3 separate regions of the Homo sapiens genome follow, and all the other regions are linked to region 1. Evidence: promoter capture Hi-C in 16 types of primary human blood cells and fetal thymus (Javierre and others, 2016). All regions are on one chromosome and are shown on one strand. Each heading gives the region's core, a stretch centred on a gene start or on the middle of the fragment in contact. The rest is flanking DNA. Distances are from core to core; before and after follow the strand shown.

Region 1 (3,721 bases), core at 492-2,991:
CCTGAGACACCATGCCCAGCTAATTTTTTTTGTATTTTAGTAGCTATGGGGTTTCGCCATGTTGGCCAGGCTGATCTCAAACTCCTGAACTCAGGCAATCCTCCCGCTTTGGCCTCCCAAAGTGTTAGGATTACAGGCATGAGCCACCGCGCCCATCTTTTTTCTTATTTCTTTTCAGATCTCTTTATAGGCCGGGTGAAGGGTGAAGTGGCTCACACCTGTAATCCCAGCACTTTTGGAGGATGAAGTGGGAGGACTGCTTGAGGCCAGTTCAAGACCAGCTGGGCATCATAGTGAGACCCTTGTCTCTACAGAAAATTAAAAAATTAGCCAGGTGTGGTGGTGCCCACCTGTAGTCCCAGCTATTCAGGAGCCCAGGAGTTCCAAGTTACAGTGAGCTGTGATCTCCCCAGGCACTCCAGACTGGGCAACAGAGTGGACCTTGCCTCAAAAAGAGACAAAAAAAAAACAAAAAAAAAGAAAAACTCTCATATACCAAGGGTGAGAAGAGCAAATGGAACACGAACTTGACTCTGAAAAATAGTTTGACAATTTCTCTGTATATTTATATACTGATACCTATATCACACACATAGATTCACACAGGCATTTCCTTTCTCTCATTCTTCTAATATAGGAAGTTTGGTTGGATTTATATTTACAGTTCAGCATTGCCATGACTTTGCACATACTATTCGCGGTTGGCACACGTAGTATAACGTGATCTCCTTCTTAACCTTTCTTTCTTTTGTTTTTTTTTTGAGATGGAGTTTTGCTCCTGTTGCCCAGGCTGGAGTGCAATGACGCCATCTTGGCCCACAGCAACCTCCGCCTCCCGGGTTCAAGCGATTCTCCTGCCTCAGCCTCCCGAGTAGCTGGGATTACAGGCATGCGCCACCATGCCTGGCTAATTTTGTATTTTTAGTAGAGACAGGGTTTCTCCATGTTGGTCAGGCTGGTCTCGAACTCCCGCTCTCAGGTGATCCGCCCACCTCGGCCTCCCAAAGTGCTGGGATTACAGGCGTGAGCCACCGCGCCCGGCCTCTTTCCCAACCTTTTTTTTCTCACTGAAGTGGTCCTGTTCCCTTAATTTCTGGCCACTTCTCCTGAGTCCAGCCCTCATATTTGGCTCCACCTGGGTCCCAGGCTCTCCCCTCCGCCTTGGGAACTATACTTTCTGGCTTTTACTGGCTTTTCCCCATGCCTTTCACCCAACATAATTTTGGCACGTTCCAACCGTTTTCATTACCTAGTCTGTGACTGCTACCCCTGTTCCGTCAGCGTAGCTAACAGCCCTCTTCTGCGTTCAAAAGGCGCTTCAAGCTACTTTGTTAGAAATCTGGCTTTGGCCGAAGTGTCCCCTCTCGGCCGGTTCTCCTTTTCCCTCACAAGGAACTGTTTCCTAACCTTTGTACAAAGTGTAAACGTCGCGGCCATCTTAGCCTTCTATTCAGCTGCTGAAAGGGATTTACCTCCACGCCATTTTTGTCTTGTGTAAACTGGAGCCTCTGTATATGGACCCGTATTTATGAAGGGTTGAGGTGCCAGGAAATGGGACAGTTTCAGTGCTCTTTCATCTTCCCGGCCATCCCCGGTCACCCCCGGTCACCCCCGGTCACCAGCGCCAAAACGCGCCCTTTGCCTTGTGTACGTCAGATACTCAAAGATGGCGGCCCCCATGGAGCCAAGGCGACGAGGGCGCGGCCATCTTGCATCTGCGCAAACGCTGGGAACGCCTCCGACCCTGGATAGTCGCCGTCAGGCACTGAGGAGGCCGAGAGATGAGGCCGGAGCCCACCAAGTTCTGGGAAGTAAGTTCAGTCACTGGGTGGTCGCTGTGGTGACGGGGGAGGAAATTCTGTCCGTGGCTGGGCGTGTTCGTGGACAGTGGTGATGGACTGGTATCTGTCGGCGCCAGCGTTTGGCGACGCCAGTGGAATTCTTTCAGGAGCTTAGCGTGGGTCCGATTCCTATCGCAGGGGAACTACAAGAGGTCCGTGATAGGGTGTGTGTGTGTGTGATCGGGGTACCTCTGGGACCAGTCACAGGGTCCTCGTGTAGTTTGTGGTTAAAGATCTCTAGAGATCCGCTACTGAGTGCCCAAGTCACATTCTGGTGTCTTTGGTGTTGTCCTTTGGCGGGGCTCAGTGATTGCGAACTGGAGGGTTTGTTTTGTCAGCGAATCGGTTTATGGTTCAGGTTTTGTTTGGGACTAAATGATTGAGGAACTGTCTTGGGGGTTAAGGTACGGAGGTTTCTGATCCAGGTTTTGGAATTAATCCCGGTGGCGGTGGTGGTAGCGCCACAGATTCCGATGTGGGCTGCAGCTCTGGAGGCCTGGGAACCATGGCAGGTGATGGGTTAGCCCCAGCCCTGGCTGCTGGAACAGAATTGATGCTCATTAGCATTCCCCTTCTGCCCAAGACCCTTCTCCACGACTGGTTTTTAAATCCCCTTTGGCACCTTCCATCACCCCTTGGTCTTGAATCCTCAGAAATGGAAGTTTTTGGCGAGATCAGTCATCTAGCATACCTAAAAGTAGTATGTTTTATATTTAAGATGCGGCTTCTACCCTTTGTCCTGCAAGTTTCCAGCGTATCCTCTTGGATATTTCTTTTCAGGTTCTTTCTGACACAAGTAAGATAACATCTCTGCCATGGTAAGCTCGGTTACTCAAAGATAACCTTTGTCAAATTTTCAGAATATTTCAATTTTAGACGTGTATGTTATGTGCTTAATATTCATAATTCAGATAAATTATGTAAATGGTACTATTATCTTTTTCGCTTTATATTATGTAATAAACATTTAGAAGTTGTTTTTACTGTTTGAGCCGGTGGTACTATAAGTGCATTCACATTAAGTTTATGCGTACATTTGGATAGAAGTGAAATGTTTTAAAATGTTTAGGTATTATTTTTAGGAACATTTTATGATTATCCATTTATCCATGAATTTTGTTTTTCCTGCCTTTAATCTTCAATCTAGACTATTACTTTTATTGCAGTGTATTGCTTTCTGACTCCCCTTTCCTTATAATCTATAACAAAAGATAAATTAATTTTAAATATTTATTTTATATTTGGTCATCTTAATTCTTAGTATTACAATATTTTTCTCTCTGCCTAACATATTATTTTGTGAAAATTTTTGAACCTATGGAAATATTGAAAGAAGTTTAATGTTAATACCAATATGCCTACCACCTAGCTTTTACCATTAACATTGTATTAGATCAGCTCTACTGGTTTTCTAAGTATTCATCCATTCCTCTGTTTGTGAATCATTCCTTATTTGTTGTCGATTTTGGTATATTTCAAAGTAAGTTACAGACATAAGTACCATTCCTCTAAATAATTCTGTATATGATTAACTAGAATTCTACTAATAGCCCTTTAATTGCTTTATTTATTTACTTAATAGGGAGGCATCTGATTTACAGATAATTTTGGTTCGGTATAAAGTAGAGTAAAAGTGGATTTTGAAGTGAAACAAAAGTGGATTTTCAGCCCTGATTCTGCTTCTTGCTCATTGTGTGATTGGCATAACTTGTGTCGCTTTACTTGTTGGCCAAAAGAGGAGTTAAACATCTTTTCCTCACGATTATCTCTGAGGATTATTTTTGGTTTTGTCTTTTGTAAAATTTGTATTTATATTCATTTTTTTCTCTCCCTTCCTCCCGCCTGGTTTCTCTCTTTTTTCTATTAATGAAAACATTTAA
Region 2 (3,986 bases), core at 936-3,435, 5.4 Mb before region 1:
ACCTAGGTGACGGGTTGATAGGTGCAGCAAACCACCATGGCACACGTTTACCTATGTAACAAACCTACACATCCGGCACCTGTATCCTGGAACTTTAAAAAATTAAATTAAATTGGCGCGGTGGCTCACGCCTGTAATCCCAGCACTTTGGGAGGCCAAGGTGGGTGGATCACGAGGTCAGGAATTCGAGACCAGCCGGGCCAACATGGTGAAACCCCATCTCTACTAAAAATACAAAAAAAATTTAGCCAGGCGCAGTGGCAGGCGCCTGTAATCCCAGATACTCAGGAGGCTGAGGCAGGTGAATCGCTTGAACGTGGGAGGTGGAGTTTGCAGTGAGCCGAGATAGCGCCACTGCACTCTAGCCTGGGCAACAGAGTGAGACTCTGTCTCAAAAAAAAAAAAAAAAGAAAGCAAAGAAAGAAAAAAAAATTAAATTAAATTAAAAAAAAAAAGGAAAATCTGTCTGAAAATTCTCACCAGTTACCAACACTTCTTTCTGAGGCTAGGAGGAGAAGGAGGTGGTATGTTAAAGTCAATAATCACACTAACTTTATACATACAAGAAGCTTTCAAAATAGTCATAGTAAAAATGGTACTTTATAAGGAGAAGCTGAAAAAATAGGAAACCAAATGCATATTGGAAATAAATTATACAACTAGGACAATGGAGCAAAATAAGAGATTAAAGCAAAGAATCAGGAACTATCTTGAAAATAAATGATGAGTTCATATAAATAGGAAAAACATTTGTCAACAAGTGGTTTGTGGGAATCTAAAAGGTTTTCATACCTCAGAGCCTGAGTTTTTTTTTTTTTTTTTTGAGACCGAGTTTCACTCTTGTTGCTCAGGCTGGAGTGCAATGGCATGATCTCGGCTCACTGCAACCTCCGCCTCTGGGGTTCAAACGATTCTCCTGCCTCAGCCTCCCGAGTAGCTGGGATTACAGGCATGCGCCACCACCTCTGACTAATTTTTGTATTTTTAGTAGAGACGGGGTTTCTCCCTGTTGGTCAGGCTGGTCTCGAACTCCCGACCTCAGCTGATCCACCAGCCTCGGCCTCCCAAACTGCTGGGATTACAGGCGTGAGCCACCTCTCGCCTGAGAATCTTGATACTGCTGTGTTATTGATTGCTCCACCCCTAAAGAGATGTAGTTATTCATGGGAGAAAATACCTCATAATTTTCCCTGATGATAGCAATTCCATAGAGACACCAAAAGAATCTAAATTATGGCCGGGCGAGGTGGCTCATCCCTGTAATCCCAGCACTTTGGGAGGCCGAGGCGGGCGGATCACGAGGTCAGGAGATCGAGACCATCCTGGCTAACACGGTGCAACCCCGTCTCTACTAAACACACACACACACACACACACACACACACACACACTAGCCGGGCGTGGTGGTGGGCGCCTGTAGTCCCAGCTACTCAGGAGGCTGAGGCAGGAGAATGGCGTGAACCCAGGAGGCTTCAGCCTCCCGAGTAGCTGGGACTACAGGCACGCACCACAACACCCAGCTAATTTTTGTATTTTTAGTAGAGACGGGGTTTCACCATGTTGGCCAGGATGGTCTCCATCTCCTGACCTTGTAATCCACCCGCCTCAGCCTCCCAAAGTGCTGAGATTACAAGCGTGAGCCACCGTGCCTGGCCGCAGTTACTATTTCTTTTGTGATTGATATATATGAATATTGTGCAATGAAATTCCCTCCCAATTGAATTATCTTTCCCTAAAAATAAACCCAAGCTTTCTGGAACATATTGAATTTCCTATTTAACAAGTTTTAAGGATATCTTAGGTGTTTCTGGGATTAGTATTTATTTTCAGGATCTTTTGCATTTACTTGTGAGAAATGGCATTGAGATAAAAATGTGTGGGCTCAAGGTGGTCATGGTTATTTCTACGGAGTCAATTCACAATCTCTAGACCTGTCCGGTGGAAAATAACAGAAATATATGTGCTTAAAATAAAATATACCATGATGCAATGTTGATTGTTCCAAAAATTATAGTTTTTAAAAATTCTTCAAGTTAGCATTTGTACTGTGCTGAAGGCCTTGTTACCAATTGTATTGTAGCGTTTTTTTAATTTCTTTTTTTTTTTTTTTTGAGACAGAGTCTCGCTCTGTCGCCCAGGCTGGAGGGCAATGGTTTGATTTCAGCTCACTGCAACCTCTGCCTCCCAGGTTCAAGCGATTCTCCTGCCTCAGCCTCCCGAGTAGCTGGGACTAGCACGCGCCGCCATGCCCGGCTAATTTTTGTATTATTAGTATTTTGTATTATTAGTAGAGACAGGGTTTCACCATGTTGGCCAGGATGGTCTCCATCTTGGCCTCCCGAAGTGCTGGAATTACAGGTGTGAGCCACTGCACCCGGCCTAAAATTTGTTTCAATGCATCAATAACAATGGTGTTTACTAAAATATTAGTGTGGAAAAGGTTTTATGGTGTATTATTTTTGCTTTTCATATCTCCAGGCTACTTAATTGAAGGTTTTATTGAAATAAGTGTAGACTCACAAGCAGTCATAAGAAATAATACAGAAAAAGCCCTGTCCATATTACCCAGGGTTCCGTCATGATTACATTTTGCAAACTATAGTATAATATCACTCTAATGATATTGACTCTTCTGTGTTCTGTTTTTATATATTTCCCTAGTTTTGCTTGTATTTACTTGTTGCATGTGTGTAAGCCCTGAGTTTTATAGGTTTGATTTGTGGATCTGTTGTGCGGTTGAGCCCTCATTCATTCACCTGCTTCTCTGCAGTTGGACACACAAGCAATTGCCTTTGCACGAACAGGGACAATCTTAATTTCTGTTTAAGATGAGAAAATATGGTTGGAGACACATTAAAACTTCTGTCTCCACTGATGACAAGATACTTCTTTCTGCTTTTTTATTCTACTGATTCTTCAGACCTCAATGAAAATCAACATCCCCTAGATTTTGATGAAATGGCTTTTGGAAAAGTAAAATCAGGGATTAGCTTCCTCATTCAGACTGGAGTTGGGATCCTGGGAAATTCCTTTCTCCTTTGTTTTTATAACTTAATTTTGTTCACTGGACACAAGCTGAGACCCACGGACTTGATTCTCAGCCAACTGGCCTTGGCTAACTCCATGGTCCTTTTCTTTAAAGGGATACCTCAGACAATGGCAGCTTTTGGATTGAAATATTTGCTGAATGACACTGGATGTAAGTTTGTCTTTTATTATCACAGGGTGGGCACAAGAGTTTCCCTCAGCACCATCTGCCTTCTCAATGGATTCCAAGCCATTAAGCTCAACCCCAGTATATGCAGGTGGATGGAGATCAAGATTAGATCCCCAAGGTTTATTGACTTCTGTTGTCTCCTCTGCTGGGCCCCCCATGTCTTGATGAATGCATCTGTTCTTCTATTAGTGAATGGCCCACTGAATAGCAAAAACAGTAGTGCAAAAAACAATTATGGATACTGTTCTTACAAAGCATCAAAGAGATTTAGCTCATTACATGCAGTCTTATATTTTTCCCCTGATTTTATGAGTTTGGGCTTCATGGTCTGGGCCAGTGGCTCCATGGTCTTCTTCCTCTACAGACACAAGCAGCAAGTCCAACACAATCACAGCAACAGACTCTCCTGCAGACCTTCCCAGGAAGCCAGAGCCACACACACCATCATGGTCCTGGTGAGCTCCTTTTTTGTTTTCTATTCAGTCCATAGTTTTCTGACAATTTGGACAACTGTAGTTGCAAACCCAGGCCAGTGGATAGTGACCAACTCTGTGTTGGTCGCCTCATGTTTCCCAGCACGCAGCCCTTTTGTCCTCATCATGAGTGATACTCATATCTCTCAGTTCTGTTTTGCCTGCAGGACAAGGAAAACACTCTTTCCTAATCTGGTTGTCATGCCATGAGTCTTTTCTCTTCATGGAATTCAGCTATTTATCATAACTCTTGCTAAGATTTAGGAAATATTAACTACTAGTTATTTGTGATAGCA
Region 3 (3,983 bases), core at 1,331-3,830, 6.0 Mb before region 1:
AAGGGAGGAGGGTATAATGAGGCAAGTCCAGCTTCTGCTTCCCATCATGGCCCGAACTCATTTTTCAAATTAACTTTGGAATGCCCTTGGCTGAGAGGAGGGGTCTATTCATATGGTTGGGGGGTGGGGGGCTTAGAATTTTATTTTTTGGTTTACAACATTAATCCATTCATGACAGCAGAGCCTTATGACCTCCATAAATCCCATTAGACCCTGCCTCCCAACACTACTGCACTGGGGAGTAAGTTTCAACATGAATTTTGGAGAGGATAAAAACATTCAAATCATAGCAGGGGTGTTTTTCTTCATCTGGTTTCCTGACACCTTTAGGTCAAAGGTATCTCTCTCATTTGAGTTCCCTCTCAAAAGTGAACAGAGCTACCTCATCTCTCTTTAGAATATGAATTCTAGTCTTATTTTATATGAACATTGAGGTTTGTGTAGCAGGTATTTGGTGATTGCATATCTTAAAACTTGGCTTCTGTACTGTATGAGACTATCAGTTACGATACGAAGAAAATAAAAAGAGAGTAATACAATTGAGAATTAGGGAGATGAGTCACAGCTGGCTGTTACCAGGATGTGACATCTGTGCTGTGATCTGGATGAAAAAAAGAAAACCCTGGGGCTGTACAAGGAAGAAGATTCCAGGAAGAGGAAACAATACGTACAAAGGCCCTGAAGCAGGAATGGACTTACCCTGTTTGAGGAGTGGCTGGGGTCCAGAAATGGGCAGGAATGACAGGAGATGAGCTTGAGGGACTGAGGTGGGGTGTGGGATAGGACAGAGGCCAGTCCTGCTGAGTTTTCTAAGCTGTGAGCTGGAATTTGGATTTTACTTTAATTACTTGGGAAGCCAGTGCAGAATGTGAGGCAAGGACCTGATGTGAGATCCTAAAAGTGCCCTTGGCTGCCTGCTGGAGGATGAGCTGTAGGGGGCTGGAGTGGAAGTGGAGAGACACTCTCTTCTTACTTCTGTCACTCTTCCTTCTCCAGCCTCTCTTTCTCTGCTTGATCCTGAGATGGAAATTGTGGCTGTACCATCCATAGATTGCTTTCCTCTCAGTGCCCACTCTGACTGGGTTCACCTTCCTGCCAGCTGGGGCCTGTCCCAACACCTTGCCCCTTCCACCTTACCTCTCTCATGGTCCTCTCCCTCGAATTCAGCCTGTCCTACTTGAAATTTTCCTCTCCCTTGAATTCAGCCTGTCCTACTTGAACTTTTCCTCTCCCTCTGAAAGGGCTACTCCCCTTTGCCCACCCACAGTGAGTGCCAACACCACCCAACAACAAAAGCCCAACCCACAGGCCAGCTTTTTAAAATGATCCTCCATTACTAGTGGAAATATCTTCAAAATCTCTCTTGCCCACTGCTCACTCAAGTCTAGCTTCCTAAATGGCCATGCTTTCTTTGGTATCACCACCTACAGTCCCTCAGTCCCTTTTTTTGAGACAGAGTCTTGCCCTGCTGCCCAGGCTGGAGTGCAATGGCTTGATCTCGGCTTACTGTAGCCTCCGCTTCCCGGGTTCAAGCGATTCTCCTGCCTCAGCCTCCCAAGTAGCTGGGTACAGGTGCCCTCCACCAAGCCCGGCTAATTTTTGGTATTTTTAGTAGAGACGAGGTTTTATCATGTTGCCCAGACTGGTCTCGGAACTCCTGACCTCAGGCGATCCACCTGCCTTGGCCTCCCAAAGTGCTGGGATTACAGCTGTGAGCCACCGCGCCCGGCCCGTTTTTGTTTGTTTTAATGCCGGGTCTTGCTCTGTTGCCCAGGCTGAAGTGCAGTGGTGCGATCATAGCTCACTGCAACCTTGACCTCCCAGGCTCAAGCAATCCTTCCACCGCAACCTCCTAAGTAGCGGGGACTACAGGCGCGCGCCATCACACCGGGCTAATTTTTGTATTTTTTTTGTAGAGATGTGGTCTCGCTATGTTGCCCAGGGTGGTGTCGAACTCCTGAACTCAACTGATCCTCCCGCCACAGCTTCCCGAAGTGCTGGGACTACAGGAATGAGCCACCGCTCCCGAACCGCTCCATGCATATCGATAGAGGAAAACTCACAGGGTGCGTCGCTGGTAACCCATGCTCCCATAAAGCCTGGCCTCTGGAAAGAGACTTGGGAACGAGCCCTGACGTTCTCAGCCGTCGAGCTTCACAGAGAAGGGTAGCTCGAATTAGGTTCCTTATCTTAAAGAGAATAACAGCAGTCACTTTCTCACAATCTTGCGAACGCCAAATGGAAGGATCCCTCGAGAGCGCTGAGAACTCGCCGAGCTCCTCCCGGGAAACCCGGTACCACGAGGCGCCATTTTGCGGATGGGCAAACCGAGGCCCGCGGGGCCGCGACTTACCCAGGCCTTTTTGCAGTGGGAGGCGACGGTGGAGGAGGGTGGTCTGGGACCGGGACAACAAAGTCCATCCTGCCGCCGGCTTCGACGCAGGTGCCAGAAAGGTCCCAACCCCGCCCAGGCAGGGCGAGGCGGCGCGGCCCAGGAACCTGTCATGGCGGCGCCGCTGCCCGACGCCGGAAGTGCCCGCCTGGAACTACAGCTCCCAGCAGACCCCGCGGCGCGCTCCGGTCGACGCCGGGGAAGCAGCCGCCATTGTCCGCGGCTGAGGTGAGGCCTTTGCTCAGGCTGTGGGGCCGCCGTAGCTGCGGGGCTTGGGGGGTCAGGAGAGCCGGCTGGGAGAGGCGGCGTCAGGGTGGGTCCTGCGCCTGCCCTTTCCGCGCCGGCTTTGCGCCGTCGTTGCCGTCGGTTCTCCAGCCAGCAGCCTGCCTCCGGCCTCCCGCCTCCGGGCGTTCTTCGTTTTCTGGTCGGACGGGCCTGGGTGAACTCTGCTGCACGTCGGCTCCGCGGGCCTTTGTCCCCGAGGCCGCGCCGGGAGCTCCCAAGCGCACTCCTGGGCCGGACCTCGGCGCGGGACAAAAGCCAAACGCCCCAGGCGGGCAGACCCCGATCCTGCTGCGCCGCCTTCAAGGGGGACCGCCGGCCGCGAGCCAGGTGAGGCCGGGACGAGCTTTTGCAGCGTCGCGGCCGCGTCGGTCTTGAGGAGGAAATTTGGGTCGGGAGCTCTGGAAGCAGGTGATAAGGATGCTTCTGAGGCCATTGATGGGACGAATAACCCCGTTCGTTCCCCAGCCGTCGTTTCTCCCCCTGCCAGTTCACACAAAGCACTGTGAAGGACGTCAGACCTGGGTTGGAAACAGCTCCGGGTTCCCTTAAACATGCAGTGACGGCGGCGGTCACTGTCAAGTTGCAAATAATGGTGCAAAGTACGGTTTGCATTCTGCGTTTTCGCGCTGATTCCGGTGCTCCTGAGGCCCACTGTGTGTTCTAGTGCTTTATACACATACCCAGGAATCCATTCGAGAGGTTGCTGACTTGTACAAAGATCTGGAACCTGAGGAGTTAGGGGTCTGGGCGCCAGGCCCATCTCTAAGTCCTCCACACACACACAAGCTTAGGCTTAGTAAATCTTGGAGGTGAATTTTTTTTGGAGGTGGGATTAAATTTGCATAACATAATGTTCACTTTAAGCACTTAAAAGTGTGCAATTCACCGGTTTTATTGTATATTAATAAAGTTGTGCAATCATCCCCATTATCTAATTTTAGAACATTTCATCACCCCACAAAGAAACCCTTGTTCCCCTTAAGCAGTCACTCCCCATTTCATTTTTCCCCCAGCTCTAGGCAACCACTAATATATGAGGATTGCAAGTTGATTTTACAATAATTGTCAGATTAATCCAAAAGTTCCATCTGTGTTGTGACTGGCTGTCTCTTGGGAATAGCTGACAAATTTGTACCCTCTCATTCAGGATCATGCTCTTTTTTCCAGCTTATGCAAATTACCTTTCATTTCTCTCCAGGAATTGTGTTACTTTTTTGACATGTAAATTCTCTTTTCTTACGATGCTCCTTACAAGTTTTTTTGTTGCTTCGGTGGATGGATTCCCTTCTTTGTTCCCACTTGGTCT

Evidence for each region. The method cuts DNA at HindIII sites, captures the fragments that hold promoters and counts their contacts. A CHiCAGO score of 5 or more calls a contact.
Region 2: a contact is called between the fragment with the promoter of VN1R1 here and the fragment with the promoter of ZNF615 in region 1, in 1 of 17 cell types (non-activated CD4 T cells). The highest score is 5.6, in non-activated CD4 T cells.
Region 3: the fragment with the promoter of ZNF606 here is called in contact with the fragment with the promoter of ZNF615 in region 1 in 1 of 17 cell types (non-activated CD4 T cells); the score reaches 8.7 in non-activated CD4 T cells.

What each region holds. Positions count from the first base shown.
Region 1 is chr19:52,006,231-52,009,951 of GRCh38, reverse strand. It overlaps ZNF615 (zinc finger protein 615), which reads left to right and starts at 1,741. Exons shown (of 7, transcript NM_001199324.2): 1 at 1,741-1,811; 2 at 2,622-2,659. LOC124904755 (a long non-coding RNA gene) reads right to left here and starts at 1,654. Exons shown (of 2, transcript XR_007067321.1): 1 at 1,473-1,654. RefSeq lists enhancers at 1,231-1,310, 1,371-1,980. The HindIII fragment of the contact is 6,775 bases long and covers 1-3,721 here.
Region 2 is chr19:57,455,339-57,459,324 of GRCh38, reverse strand. VN1R1 (vomeronasal 1 receptor 1) reads left to right here and starts at 2,185. Exons shown (of 1, transcript NM_020633.4): 1 at 2,185-3,986. The coding sequence starts at 2,839. The coding sequence ends at 3,900. The HindIII fragment of the contact is 5,648 bases long and covers 1,752-3,986 here.
Region 3 is chr19:58,001,417-58,005,399 of GRCh38, reverse strand. ZNF606 (zinc finger protein 606) reads left to right here and starts at 2,580. Exons shown (of 7, transcript NM_001348022.3): 1 at 2,580-3,004. ZNF606-AS1 (ZNF606 antisense RNA 1) reads right to left here and starts at 2,506. Exons shown (of 4, transcript NR_036508.1): 1 at 2,354-2,506; 2 at 2,064-2,189; 3 at 700-1,017. RefSeq lists an enhancer at 2,229-2,648. The HindIII fragment of the contact is 14,498 bases long and covers 1-3,465 here.